Regions from separate parts of the Homo sapiens genome. Here region 1 is linked to region 2. The links are contacts of gene promoters, found by promoter capture Hi-C in human tissues and cell types (Jung and others, 2019). All regions are on one chromosome and are shown on one strand. Each heading gives the region's core, a stretch centred on a gene start or on the middle of the fragment in contact. The rest is flanking DNA. Distances are from core to core; before and after follow the strand shown.

Region 1 (7,541 bases), core at 584-3,083, 1.4 Mb before region 2:
AAAGAAGTGGTTGTTCCTTGAACAGGCCCAGTAAGGCAGGAGGAGCTGCTGGTCTCCTCCCAGCTCCCTAAAGATTTTTCTGCTGTCCCTAGTGCTCATAACTGCCACCCTCCCTCTGTAATTGGTACTTGACTTCAGGGGTATCTATTACAGAGTTTTAGCAGAAATAAAGAAATGAACTAAGACCAAACTCACAAGAGATAATCAAATACAGCAATTAAAATTACCAGCCATTTTTTTTTTCAAAGGATAGTGGTCCATGTTTCCTTTTTGGCTGTTGTATTCTGTGGTTCTGGTTGCTAAGGAAGTATTAATAAATATGAATTGAATATGTTGCCTGCTTGGAAGCATAAAAGAGAGTAAATAGTTCTGGGGACTGAGCTGCTTCTCTGTGAGTTTAGTTTGCCCCACACCAGACATGTATGTACGCAGCACTGCCCAACTTTTACATAAGATCTCAGGTTGATGGTCTACATAGTACTGAACAATAGGAGAACCCTGAAATATCTGTCAGGCTGGGCGCAGTGGCTCACGCCTGTAACCCCAGCACTTTAGGAGGCCGAGGCGGGCAGATCACTTGAGCTGAGTTTGAAACCAACCTGGGCAACACGACGAAACCCTGTCTCTATAAAAATATGCAAAAATTGGCCGAGCACGGTGGCTCACGCCTGTAATCCCAGCACTTTGGGAGGCTGAGGCGGGCGGATCACAAGGTCAGGAGATCGAGACCATCCTAGCCAACATGGTGAAACCCTGTCTCTACTAAAAATACAAAAAATTAACTGGGCGTGGTGGCACACGCCTGTAGTACCAGCTACTAGGGAGGCTGGGGCAGGAGAATCGCTTGAACCCGGGAGGCGGAGGTTGCAGTGAGCCGAGATTGCGCCACTGCACTCCAGCCTGGCGACAGAGTGGGAATCCGTCTCAAAAAAAAAAAAAATTTAGCTGGGCGTGGTGGTGCGAGCCTGTAGTCCCAGCTCCTCGGGAGGCTGAGGTGGGAGGCTCACTGGAGCCCAGGAGGTTGAGGCTGCAGTGAGCCGAGATCGCACTACTGCACTCCAGCCTGGGCGACAGAGCTAGACCCTGTCTCAAATAAATAAATAATAAAAATCTAAGACTACGATAACCCTACAGTTGGCCCGCGGGGCATTCAACCTTCCATGGATTGAAAATATTCGGGAAAAATAAAGATAATAAAACATAATACAAATAAATACAGTATAACAACTAGTTCCATAGCACTTGCATTGTATTAGGTATTATACTTAATCTAGGGGATGGTTTAAATATCTGGGAAGGTGTATGCAGGTTATATGCAAACACTATACCATTTTACATAAGGGACTTGACCGTCTGCGGATTCTGGTGTCTACGGGGTCCTGGAACTAATCCCCATTTCATGAGAGGGGATGACTGTACACACGTCAGTGTGTATTAGGCCATCAAAACGCCTCCGGGAAATTCTCGGGTTATTTTGAAAACCCCTCCCCTCCCCAAGACCTTTAACCTAGAGGGCTGTTGGGGCGGTCTCCTAGGAGACCACACAGAAACGACTGCGCATGCGTGCATTCCCCCCCCCCCCCCCCCCCCCCCCCCCGCCCCGGCTGATGCAACCTCACGCTGCCGTGCGGCTCTACCTCGAGTAAGGAAGCCGACAGGGAAATCTGGCAAAACCAATCGGCGGCCACACGGAAGTGGGCGGAAAGGCCCGCCCCCCGGGGATTTTGCGAGTGACGTTGGGCGGCGCGGCGCTAGGGACGTAGACGCCCAACAGTCCTGCGTCTCTTCCGGCGTCTAGGGGGGTGTCCTGCCGGCGCGCGGGCCCTGCGGCCATTTTGGGCTTCGCTTCCACCGCACCAGCCGGCCTACCCAGTCCTTCCGGTATCGCGTTGCTCAGGGGCTTTTCAACCCTCTGTCAGTCGGAAAACCATCGCCGAGGCCGTGGGGGGACTCCTATCCATGGTGTTGAAGCGTCGAGCCGACTAGGGAACCTCCTTCCCCGCCAGGATGGAAGTCGCATCAGTCGCCGCCTATTGCGCGGGCTGTTCTTCCCTGTGTTCTGCCGCCCGCTGCCGCATTCGCTGCCCTCTGTGGCTTTTCTGCTGGCTCGAAGATCGGCCTGGAGCAGCGACGCCACCGCTGGGCAAGGCCGAGACTCTGTAGGCTTCCTCCGAATCCCGTCGACCTCCAGCCGCTGAGCGCCGCGGCCCTACCTGAGAGACTGTCAAGAAAAAGGAGATGGAGCCGGGGACAGGCGGATCGCGGAAACGGCTTGGCCCTCGGGCGGGCTTCCGGTTCTGGCCACCCTTTTTCCCTCGGCGATCGCAAGCAGGCTCTTCTAAGTTCCCGACGCCTCTTGGCCCGGAAAACTCCGGGAACCCCACACTGCTTTCCTCTGCCCAGCCCGAGACTCGGGTCAGTTACTGGACGAAACTGCTCTCCCAGCTCCTTGCGCCGCTCCCCGGATTGCTTCAGAAGGTGCTAATTTGGAGCCAACTTTTCGGTGGAATGTTTCCGACCAGATGGCTAGATTTTGCTGGAGTCTACAGCGCCCTGAGAGCCCTGAAGGGACGGGAGAAACCAGCCGCCCCCACAGCGCAGAAATCTTTGAGTTCGCTGCAGCTCGACTCCTCAGACCCCTCGGTCACCAGTCCCCTTGATTGGCTAGAGGAGGGGATCCACTGGCAATACTCGCCCCCAGACCTAAAATTGGAGCTTAAGGCCAAGGGAAGTGCTTTGGACCCTGCAGCACAGGCTTTTCTCTTAGAGCAGCAGCTGTGGGGAGTGGAGCTGTTGCCCAGTAGCCTTCAATCCCGTCTGTACTCTAACCGGGAACTTGGCTCTTCGCCCTCTGGGCCTCTAAACATTCAACGCATAGACAATTTCAGTGTGGTATCCTATTTGCTGAACCCTTCCTACCTGGACTGCTTTCCTAGGCTAGAAGTCAGCTATCAGAACAGTGATGGAAATAGCGAGGTAGTCGGCTTCCAGACACTAACCCCAGAGAGCAGCTGCCTGAGAGAGGACCATTGTCATCCCCAGCCGCTGAGTGCAGAACTCATTCCGGCCTCGTGGCAGGGATGTCCACCTCTTTCTACGGAAGGCCTACCAGAAATTCACCATCTTCGCATGAAACGGCTGGAATTCCTTCAACAGGCTAGCAAGGGGCAAGATTTACCCACCCCTGACCAGGATAATGGCTACCACAGCCTGGAGGAGGAACACAGCCTTCTCCGGATGGATCCAAAACACTGCAGAGATAACCCAACACAGTTTGTTCCTGCTGCTGGAGACATTCCTGGAAACACCCAGGAATCCACTGAAGAAAAAATAGAATTATTAACTACAGAGGTTCCACTTGCTTTGGAAGAAGAGAGCCCTTCTGAGGGCTGTCCATCTAGTGAGATACCTATGGAAAAGGAGCCTGGAGAGGGCCGAATAAGTGTAGTTGATTACTCATACCTAGAAGGTGACCTTCCCATTTCTGCCAGACCAGCTTGTAGTAACAAACTGATAGATTATATTTTGGGAGGTGCATCCAGTGACCTGGAAACAAGTTCTGATCCAGAAGGTGAGGATTGGGATGAGGAAGCTGAGGATGATGGTTTTGATAGTGATAGCTCACTGTCAGACTCAGACCTTGAACAAGACCCTGAAGGGCTTCACCTTTGGAACTCTTTCTGCAGTGTAGATCCTTATAATCCCCAGAACTTTACAGCAACAATTCAGACTGCTGCCAGAATTGTTCCTGAAGAGCCTTCTGATTCAGAGAAGGATTTGTCTGGCAAGTCTGATCTAGAGAATTCCTCCCAGTCTGGAAGCCTTCCTGAGACCCCTGAGCATAGTTCTGGGGAGGAAGATGACTGGGAATCTAGTGCAGATGAAGCAGAGAGTCTCAAACTGTGGAACTCATTCTGTAATTCTGATGACCCCTACAACCCTTTAAATTTTAAGGCTCCTTTTCAAACATCAGGGGAAAATGAGAAAGGCTGTCGTGACTCAAAGACCCCATCTGAGTCCATTGTGGCCATTTCTGAGTGTCACACCTTACTTTCTTGTAAGGTGCAGCTGTTGGGGAGCCAAGAAAGTGAATGTCCAGACTCGGTACAGCGTGACGTTCTTTCTGGAGGAAGACACACACATGTCAAAAGAAAAAAGGTTTGTTTCTTGTCTTTTAACATGCCTGATATGTTCTGACTGTTTTTATATGCTTAAATATAGCAGCATGACTTTGGAGGCTTAGGAGTGCATGTATTTTTGAGGAAGGCCTCTAAATTCATATACTTGGATTGAGAAATATGTAAATGACCCTTCTCCTCCTGTCCCTCACCCCCCACCCCAATGCACATTGTTGCTGTCCAAAACGAACATACCAGTGTGTAGATGTTAGCAGGAAAGTGCCATTTTTATTTGGGTTGGTAGTTCTGGACTGTTTCCTTACAAGCTTCAATTTTTCACACTTTTTAACGGACTATTAAACTTTGTGTGTACACGATTTAATTTTTCTAGAGATTGAAAAGGTCCTGTTACAGCCATAGAGTTTTAAAATGATTTTAAATGTATGTTGTCTGCAAATACTTAATATTTTTTTTGCATATAACAAGAGTGTCTTCATTCCTGTCCATTACAACCCAAAGGGATGATGATATCAAGTAGCAAGTCAGATTTATCTGGTCCAATTGGCCATGAAATTAAATAGTAATTTCACTGGTTTTGACATTACATGGTTTTAATTGAAAGTCAAAGCCAGTACAGGAAGTGGTATTGCCTTTTCTTAGGAATGCAATGCTAGTTATCAGTGGTCAGCTACAGGTTAATATTAATAATAAACAGTGATGGCCACTTACTTGGTTTATCTTGACTAGTTGCTTCCTTTTCCCAGGCTAGTCTTAAAACTTCATGCAGCATTTTACGCTTTAATTACATTGTCAGGTTAACCTTATTTTGGGAGTCTTTAGAGTTGGTTTGTTTTTCTTTATAGTTGATTCAACTAAAGTTATTAATTGAACTCTTCTCCAAACTCAAAGGTGTCTATTATTGTAGAGGGAACGTTTTTTTAGTTTTCTATACCGTTACTTGGAGAGAGAAGTTAGTGGGTGAGTTATTATTGACCTCAGATTCTGCCTCACTGGGGCGTTTCAAATGGACAGTACCATAATCTCTTGGCTCCACATGGCCAGCTTACTACTTTGAAATTATTCCTGGGTAGAAAATGTCTCAAAATGGTGATAATCTTACGTCTTACCTTTAGGGCAGAATAAGTCATGTTAAAGATTAAATTTTAGTTCACACTTTGTAAATGCCATCTCTCTTTGTCCTTTTAAGGGGCCCCTGACAAAATGACCTATTTAGAATGAATAGGTAAGAAACAAAGTGGGGCAATGGAATGAGCACTTGGCAGCTGGAGCCCTGTGTTCTCTACTCCTCAGTGGTTAAGGCGCAGAGATTTGGAAGGCAGCCAGACCTGGGAAGTTGCTTGACTCTCATGGCCTCAATTCACTCTTACTTGATGGGTAAAATAATAATATCTATTGTACAAGTTATTGCAAGATTTAAATGAGACAAGTAAATAAAACTCAGAATTTATTGCCTTGCCTTTAAATGCTAGCTCTTATTGAGAGACCTCAGGCCAGTCTCATGTCTTGTTTTAGCTTGCTCGTTGAGTAAAATGAAATGAGTGGAGTAGATGATACTATTGACTATGAACTAGAAGCAGAATTTATAAATGATTATGTCTGAATATGATATAATTATTTGACAGCCTTTGACTACCTGCCATTGGTATATATGGGGAATGGTGTATGGAATATATGGAGTATATAGGATGATGGACAGTGAGTCTAAAAAACCCTTCTACCTCTGTTTTCTTATCGGTATAATGGGGATGATAATAGTCCATACCTCATAGGGTTAATGTGAGGATTAGATGAGATAAAAATGTAAAGCTCTTTAAAAAAAGCCTGGTATATGGTAAACACTGTACGTTTTTATTATTTATCTTAATGACACAATGAATGAGTAGTATTCAAGACTAGAATGCAATAACTAGTAAGGTGTTACATACCTGCTAATTGTCCTCAGGGGCATCCCTTGGCTTGATGTAAAGGGAACGAAAGTAGTAGGCCACATTGGGGTTAGCTGATGTAACTATTAAACATACTTGAAAGCAAGTATTTACTTTTGGAGTTTGATATCTTAGAAAGAAACTTCATTAGAAATTAAGTAGTGATTAGTAATGAGTAGGGATTGTCACTCATTACATGTCATTATGTATATTAGAATCACAATTTCATATATAGTGATAGCATATTGAATACAAAGGTTTTTAAAATCTTAACTACAAAGTTTCTTAGAGTAACACAGCTTTAAAAATACTAATTTTGCTATACTTTGTTTACTAAGTAACTTTTTCTCTTCTGTATTGTTATTGCCAAAGTAATGATACAAAAATAGTACAACATGTTGATTTAAAAGTTGGAAAGTGAAAAAAATTTTTAAAAGGAAAAAGAATAGAAGTAAGCAAAAATATTGTTAAAGCCTTTATGCAGTGATAAAAACAGTGACTTCCAGGGATATAGTGGTTATTTTCAGAAATATTTTGCTTGTCATTTTGAGGGAAAAATATCACAGAACTGTATTTCCCTAAGGATTAAAAAATAGCAGGGGTTAATAACAGCATGAAAAATTCAATTCCCTATCTGGATTCATTTTATTAACACCAAAAGCCAAGGGCTGGTGGGGGATTGGGGGGGGCAGACGACTGTGTGTGTATATTATGCAGATATAGATAAATGAAGTATATATAGATGAAAGATATATATCTCTATATGAAATATTTAGGTGACATTTGTTCACTATTTTATCCAAATGCCATCTAATCTGAACTTTTTTTTTTTTGAGACAGAGTTTTGCTCTTGTTGCACAGGCTAGAGTGTAGTGGCGCGATATTGGCTCACTGCAACCTCCACCTCCCAGGTTCAAACTGTTCTCCTACCTCAGCCTCCTGCGTAGCTGGGATTACAGGCATGTGCCACCACGCCTGGCTAATTTTTTCGTATTTTTACTAGAGACAGGGTTTCACTGTGTTGGTCAGGCTGGTCTTGAACTCCTGACCTCAGGTGATCCGCCTGCTTCCGCCTCCCAAAATGCTGGGATTACAGGCGTGACAGAACTTTTTTTTTAACTTCAAATATAGCTGGGACCAAATATTCCTAATAATAATATGTTATTCTTAGTTGGGAATATTCTGAAAGAATTGGTAGCATAAAGGGTTATTGACCTCAATGCTGATTGTAAGATCCTAGACAGTTATTAAAATTAGTCTTTGTTTTTGTAGGTAACCTTCCTTGAAGAAGTTACTGAGTATTATATAAGTGGTGATGAGGATCGCAAAGGACCATGGGAAGAATTTGCAAGGGATGGATGCAGGTTCCAGAAACGAATTCAAGAAACAGAAGATGCTATTGGATATTGCTTGACATTTGAACACAGAGAAAGAATGTTTAATAGACTCCAGGGAACATGCTTCAAAGGACTTAATG
Region 2 (7,044 bases), core at 731-3,230:
CCGAGTTGTAGTTATGCTCTCCTTTCGTTCCATACTTCCCCCTCTCTTGCCACATCTATCCACTAGAGGGAGGAAGGCCTAGAACCTCTTTAGCCAGAGTGGAGCAGTGGCAAGGATCAGTAGTGTGGCTTCTTAACCAAGCCAGCAGTGGGGATGTCAGAAGCACCGGAACATAATCGCCTCATTCTCTCGGAACAGAAAAGAGGAAGGGTCCCTTCCTTCCCCTTTTCAACCCTCTCTGCATGGATTGGCATGTCACCATGATCTGGTGCACTCACTTCCCTCAAGTCAGTGTGCAGGCTGCTTAAAAAATTCAGAGGAACATGTACTGGGGTCTTAGGAACATTTTCAGCCAGTGGAGAGGAAAAGGAAAACTAAGTATCTCTTGGATCATTCACAGAGTTCACCAAATACAACTGAAAACTGGGGGCTCTAATGTCCCTGCTGCCCTGATGGTATTAGTTTAAGATGTTGACACTGACATCTGCAGAGATCTCATCCATCACGGTATATCAAAGAGCAAATGTCATTCTAGTTGAGAAACTCATGTATGAGAAAGAATGGTCATCTTGGGAAATCTGTAGCTCCAGCGGCTCCTGATGTTTTTTCCTGCCTCCTCCTGTCCCATGCTTGTGCCCCAGGCAGAGCTCATTCCTAAAACCATAGCTGACCCTCTGTGCTGTCTTTTAAGTTATAATAGTAGCTGCCAACTGTTGAATATTTTGCTTTATGACAGGCACTACACTAAGCACGTTAACATATCTCACTGAAGCCTCACACCAAAGCTATGAACTAGATACAATCTATCTGTAGATAATAATATATATCCATCTGTAGATATCCATCTTATATCCATCTGTAGATGAAGAAACTCAGGTTGAGTAAGCTATCTAAGGTCACAGAGCCAATAAGTGCTAGAGGCAAGATTCTTATTCTGTACACTCTGCCTCCAAAGCCCACTTCTTTGACCCTAAGGGCACAAGAACCCAAATCAGGATGTGAAGCTTGGTCTTTGAAACCAAAGGAAGCTCCTGAATCATCCTGATAGGCTGACGGCTTGGCGCTGTAAACAAAATCAGTCTTTTGTCAAAAGGAAATGAAGTTGCCATGCCACTGTTCACTCCTGTAAGAGACTCCTCTGGGCTGTTCCATTCTCTTGCTGCAATTCAGCCGGTTGAAAAACTAAGGTGACTGCACAATGATTAACTTCAGGCCCTTCTGCTCTACTTTGAGCCTGTCTCTGGTTCATCGTTACACTCTCCGCTCAGCACCCGCAGACTCAAGAGATTTCCAATCCCCCAATTTAGCGTGGTTCTACCTTAGGCAGAACTCCCATCCAGTTCGGATATAAGCGGGTCGAAGTGGCAGGGACCACCTCGCTGGGAGGAGAGGCTGGAGCTGCGGTCTTAAAAGATCTTGGGGCCGGGCGCGATGGCTCACGCCTGTAATCCCAACACGTTGGGAGGCCGAAGCGGGTAGATTATTTGAGCCCTGGAGCTCGAGACCACCCTGACCAACACGGTGAAACCCAGTCTGTACTAAAAATACAAAAAAAAAATTAGCCGGGCGTGGTGGCGCACGCCAGTAGTCCCAGATACTCGGGAGGCGGAGCCAGGAGAACCACTTGAAACTGGGAGGCGGAGGTTGCAGTAACCGAGATCGCGCCACTGCACTCCAGCCTGGGCGACAGAGCGAGGCTCCGACTCAAAAAAAAAAAAAAAAGTATTGAATAAGCACCGGAGACCCTGAGCCACCGAGTAGCGGAGGGAAAGGGTGGCGCGCAGAGGGGCCCAGCCCCGCCTCTGCCGGACCCCGCCCCCAAAAGGCCCCGCCGCCGCCACCTCCTGCTAGGCCCCGCCCCCGACAGACACCCCCCCCCCCCCCCGCCAGGCCCCGCCTCCTGCCCCCCCAGCCGCGAGGTCCTGCCTCCTGCCCGGCCCCGCCCCCGGCCTGCCCCGCCCTCCGACCCGCCCCGCGGCGCATTGTGGGATCTGTCGGCTTGTCAGGTGGTGGAGGAAAAGGCGCTCCGTCATGGGGATCCAGACGGTAAGACCCTCATTCAGTATCCTCCACTGGGGGACCCCTCCCCATCTGGTTCTGGCCACTCAGCTCCGGACCAGGGGCTGTCGCTGCCGACCCCGCCCCGCAGGGCTCTGGGCCCACCGTGGATGCTGGGGTCCCGATCCCGCACATCCGGGCTCGGGACTCCGCCAGGTTACCCCTCTGCCCTTGGCATGCCTCCGCGCTGGAGCTCGGGATCGCCACCCCTGGGACGGTCACCACCCAAGCCCCGGGCTCTTACCCAGCCTGGCGGTCACGCTGCCTCCTCTACCCACAGAGCCCCGTCCTGCTGGCCTCCCTGGGGGTGGGGCTGGTCACTCTGCTCGGCCTGGCTGTGGGCTCCTACTTGGTTCGGAGGTCCCGCCGGCCTCAGGTCACTCTCCTGGACCCCAATGAAAAGTACCTGCTACGACTGCTAGACAAGACGGTAAGTTGGGGAAGAAAGGGCCAGGGTGAAGGAGGGGACCAGAGTGCTCCTGGCATGGAGGGTACAGCACCCACGGTGGTTGGGATGTCCAAGGGACGTGGCAGCGCCAGGCGCGCTTGGTGAAACACTTGTGTCCTCCACCCTCCAGACTGTGAGCCACAACACCAAGAGGTTCCGCTTTGCCCTGCCCACCGCCCACCACACTCTGGGGCTGCCTGTGGGTAAGGAAAGTGTGGAATGGGCTCCTTTCCCTGGTATCCTCAGAAGGTGACTCCCCTCCTGGGATCTCATGAAACACGCTGCTTCAACCGGTTTGCTCCACACACCATTCCCCTTCCCCCACTTGGCTCTGCATCCTCCAAGCTGTGAGGTGCCACTGGGCCCCTCTAGAGTGTGGCTTCCATGACCCCCATCCAGCTTTAACACTCAACAGTCTTGCCTCTTCCCTGCAGGATTTGCTAATTACTCCCTCTGAGCAAGCACTACTAACTTTTTCCCATTGCCCAGACCCTTTTGGCTCATCTGTCAAGGTCCTGGCAGTAACTGGCAGGAAACGCTGGAAATAAGTGTTTCCTCAACTGGGCGCTTATAAGAGATCCAACTGAGGGCTCAATGGGGCAAATCTTCCCTGCCTTGTAGCTCCTTGGGACCACAGCAGGAAGCAAGACATCTTGTTCTCTCAAATCTCTTTGAGTATTTTGAGGGATGCAGCACATCACAGACAACCCTTATGTAGCTCTCTGCACGGTCCCCAGGCAAACATATCTACCTCTCCACCCGAATTGATGGCAGCCTGGTCATCAGGCCATACACTCCTGTCACCAGTGATGAGGATCAAGGCTATGTGGATCTTGTCATCAAGGTAAGGGGCTAGGAAGGGACCCAGGGGCTGCTTACCCATTCTTTCTGGGATTTGTAGAAATTTCTAAGATTTGCCTGACAGCAGGAAATGGTATGTACTCTGTGGATGTGAAGAAAGTATGAGCTACTCAGGAGACTGAGGCAGGAGACTCACTTGAACCCAGGAGGCGGAGGTTGCAGTGAGCCAAGATTGCGCCACTGCACTCAAGCCTGGGCAGCAAGAGCAAAACTCTGACTCAAAAAAAAAAAAGAAAGAAAGAAAGTATGTAGACGGGGAAAAGATAGCACATATCTGATCCCTGCCCCAGCCTCAGGGAGGTTTAGTCAACATGGGGCTCAGAAACCAGTGACATTCCAAATAAGGTATTTTTCTCTCTGTCTTGTAAGGTCTACCTGAAGGGTGTGCACCCCAAATTTCCTGAGGGAGGGAAGATGTCTCAGTACCTGGATAGCCTGAAGGTTGGGGATGTGGTGGAGTTTCGGGGGCCAAGCGGGTTGCTCACTTACACTGGAAAAGGTAATGACCTGTCTTCTCCTTGAGCCTGTCTCCCACTTTATCAGTTCCCATAGTCCTCTTGGCACAGTATGGCTGTGTGTACACATGTGTATGCACGTAAGGGCCAGGGCCGCCCTTCCTTCTAAACATAGCGCTGATACAATAGAAAGGCATGTTTCTCAGCCCCATTTGCCACAGGAAGCAGTTCCTCCTCCACTTGAATTCCCTAGCCATGGCAGCTGTGGAGATTACTAAAGCAAACATGTGCCCCTCTTCCCCACCTTCAAAAATTTGCCCCCCTGGGTGAGCTGTGGAGTGAGCCAGAGATAGCTTTCAGCCCTTCCCATGGGAACAGCTGGGTGCATTAGCAAGTCCCTGGAGCTGCTGTGTGCCACTTGGGAAAATAGATTCACACCTGGCTCTGTGCCTGTCTCCTTCACCAGGGAGTGACACTTTGCCAGAAGCAGCTGATACATTGTGTGGCGCTGAACTGACTCACAGATAGCCCTGGCCCCATTGTCCCTCAACTATATTATTGTCAGGGCTGGCTCAACTCAAGCTTCCACCCAAGCTCCAGGATCAGATGTCATAGCAGCTGCTCAACTGGCCTCAGGCATATTTTCAACTCTGCATTTGTTTTCTAAGTTCGCTGTATTGACTTTATTCTTCCACTGCTCTCTTCACCTGACCTCTCAGGGCATTTTAACATTCAGCCCAACAAGAAATCTCCACCAGAACCCCGAGTGGCGAAGAAACTGGGAATGATTGCCGGCGGGACAGGTGCATTACACTGAGGGCCTTTCTCTCCCACCATTGTTGACTGTTGCCATGCAAATTCCTAGGTGACCCTCTGAAGACTGGTAACCATAGCCAAGCTGTTGTTCATCAGGGGATTTCCAGCAATGCTTAGAACTCCCTAGTATCTGAAAAACAAAATCATAAGCAGGTAGAAACCAAAAAAAATTTTAACTGATGGAATTAGAGAAACAAATTAAATGAGCTTTCCTCATTTTGAATGGATCTAATAGTTTTAGGTGAGAGAAGAGAGAAGCAGCTAGGAATGACTAGCTAGGAAGAAAGAAAATTAGCATTGGACACTACTGTGCATTAGACACTGTGTAGTCTAATACACTACTATATATTAGACACAAAAATTAGACACATATATAGGTATCTATGAAGTAGGTACTAGCCTTTTCCTTTTACAGAGAGACAATGGGGTTCCAGAGAGGCTAAATGATTTCCACAGGGTTATTTCACTGGTAATGGCCTGGAGCAAAATTAGTATTTGGCTCTGCCTAGTGCCTAAGTACATGCACTTAACCTCTGCAAATACAGTGTTCTAGAACCCTCATCATTGAATCCGGAGGTACTTGTAGTCATTTGTGACACTGGAGTCCTAGCCTCCAAAGGACTTTCAGAAGAGTCTTAGATTAGTTCCTAAGAAAGATTTCTACAATATGAACTTAGATGAATTTGAAGGGTGCCCGGAAATACAGATGTTGGAGAATATGCAGGAAGAGTTTAGAGGATGAGAATGCTAAAGGAAAATGGAGTGGAGTGGTGAATGAGCAGAATGAAGATGAAAGGGCTGGTCAGCTAAGGAGCCAGGACAGGGCAGAGAGTGTGGCCACTACATTTCACTGTGGGGTATCTTCATGCAGGAATCACCCCAATGCTACAGCTGATCCGGGCCATCCTGAAAGTCCCTGAAGATCCAACCCAGTGCTTTCTGCTTTTTGCCAACCAGGTTGGTTTGTTTTCCTCCACCCTAAGACTTCAAAGTTGCTGTGTGGGTAGGGCTGAGAGACGTGGTATGGATGGGCAGAACTGGCCCAGTGCCCTGTTTTAGCCTCTGCCCAAGGTCCCCTCTGTAAGGCACAGGGTCCTCTTTCAATAAGGAGGAAAAGGACAGAGCACTGAATCAAATTCCTTCCCTGGTCCCCAAGGAAAGAAGAAAACTTTTAAGGTATCTAGTCTGGAGCACAGAAACTTAGATCTTCTTGGTTAAATATTCATCTTTGTTCCTTCATAATGTGTAGATAAAGGCTGTTCCCCTCTTCTCCTCATCCTAACTCCCTAAAAGCACTGCAAGTCTTGCTTATTTCCTAGAACTTTTGCTTTCCCTTAACATTCTTTTTCTTAGTTGGAAAGTTGTATAGCAGAAAACTTTTTATGTGGGCCTGAGAAGACTCCTAAAGACTTTCCTTCCCCTTTGCATTTCAGACAGAAAAGGATATCATCTTGCGGGAGGACTTAGAGGAACTGCAGGCCCGCTATCCCAATCGCTTTAAGCTCTGGTTCACTCTGGATCATCCCCCAAAAGGTATCCTTCCCATTTCTGGACATCCCACTATCCCCTCATCGTCAAAATCAAAGCCTTGCCCCTTTGTGAATTCTGGCTTCATTGAAATCAACCTTGCCTCACACTGCCAACTCGGAAGTCTGAGTGCACAGACACAGTGATCTCCTGGTCCCTTTCCTTTGGGTTCCTGTTTACCAGGTGGGTGACAGGGATGGCGGTGCTGCTAAGGCTCAGCTTGAGGCAGGCTGAGTATACCCATTCCCAGCTGCTGCTACCACTTGACACTTTCTCCAGAGCCTTTCAGGGCCCTCCCCAGTCTCATGGCACCACACCCCCTTGCCAGCATGTATCTGGAGTATTAAGTACTTTCTTCTCCCCATACTTCAGATTGGGCCTACAGCAAGGGCTTTGTGACTGCCGACATGATCCGGGAACACCTGCCCGCTCCAGGGGATGATGTGCTGGTACTGCTTTGTGGGCCACCCCCAATGGTGCAGCTGGCCTGCCATCCCAACTTGGACAAACTGGGCTACTCACAAAAGATGCGATTCACCTACTGAGCATCCTCCAGCTTCCCTGGTGCTGTTCGCTGCAGTTGTTCCCCATCAGTACTCAAGCACTATAAGCCTTAGATTCCTTTCCTCAGAGTTTCAGGTTTTTTCAGTTACATCTAGAGCTGAAATCTGGATAGTACCTGCAGGAACAATATTCCTGTAGCCATGGAAGAGGGCCAAGGCTCAGTCACTCCTTGGATGGCCTCCTAAATCTCCCCGTGGCAACAGGTCCAGGAGAGGCCCATGGAGCAGTCTCTTCCATGGAGTAAGAAGGAAGGGAGCATGTACGCTTGGTCCAAGATTGGCTAGTTCCTTGATAGCATCTTACTCTCACCTTCTT

What was found. Contacts are between HindIII fragments. The study calls those that stand out against the background at their distance.
Region 1: a contact is called between the fragment with the promoter of PPP1R15B here and the fragment with the promoter of CYB5R1 in region 2, in 1 of the 25 tissues and cell types used here (thymus).

What each region holds. Positions count from the first base shown.
Region 1 is chr1:204,406,109-204,413,649 of GRCh38, reverse strand. PPP1R15B (protein phosphatase 1 regulatory subunit 15B) reads left to right here and starts at 1,833. Exons shown (of 2, transcript NM_032833.5): 1 at 1,833-4,158; 2 at 7,337-7,541. The coding sequence starts at 2,239. RefSeq lists enhancers at 1,546-1,595, 1,606-2,305, 2,566-2,715, 2,022-2,856 and a silencer at 1,641-2,087. The HindIII fragment of the contact is 8,124 bases long and covers 1-7,096 here.
Region 2 is chr1:202,962,193-202,969,236 of GRCh38, reverse strand. CYB5R1 (cytochrome b5 reductase 1) reads left to right here and starts at 1,980. Exons shown (of 9, transcript NM_016243.3): 1 at 1,980-2,046; 2 at 2,339-2,488; 3 at 2,637-2,709; 4 at 3,244-3,350; 5 at 3,737-3,866; 6 at 4,542-4,625; 7 at 5,510-5,595; 8 at 6,072-6,171; 9 at 6,538-7,044. The coding sequence starts at 2,032. The coding sequence ends at 6,710. RefSeq lists silencers at 882-1,176, 1,793-1,952, 2,023-2,072. The HindIII fragment of the contact is 6,951 bases long and covers 122-7,044 here.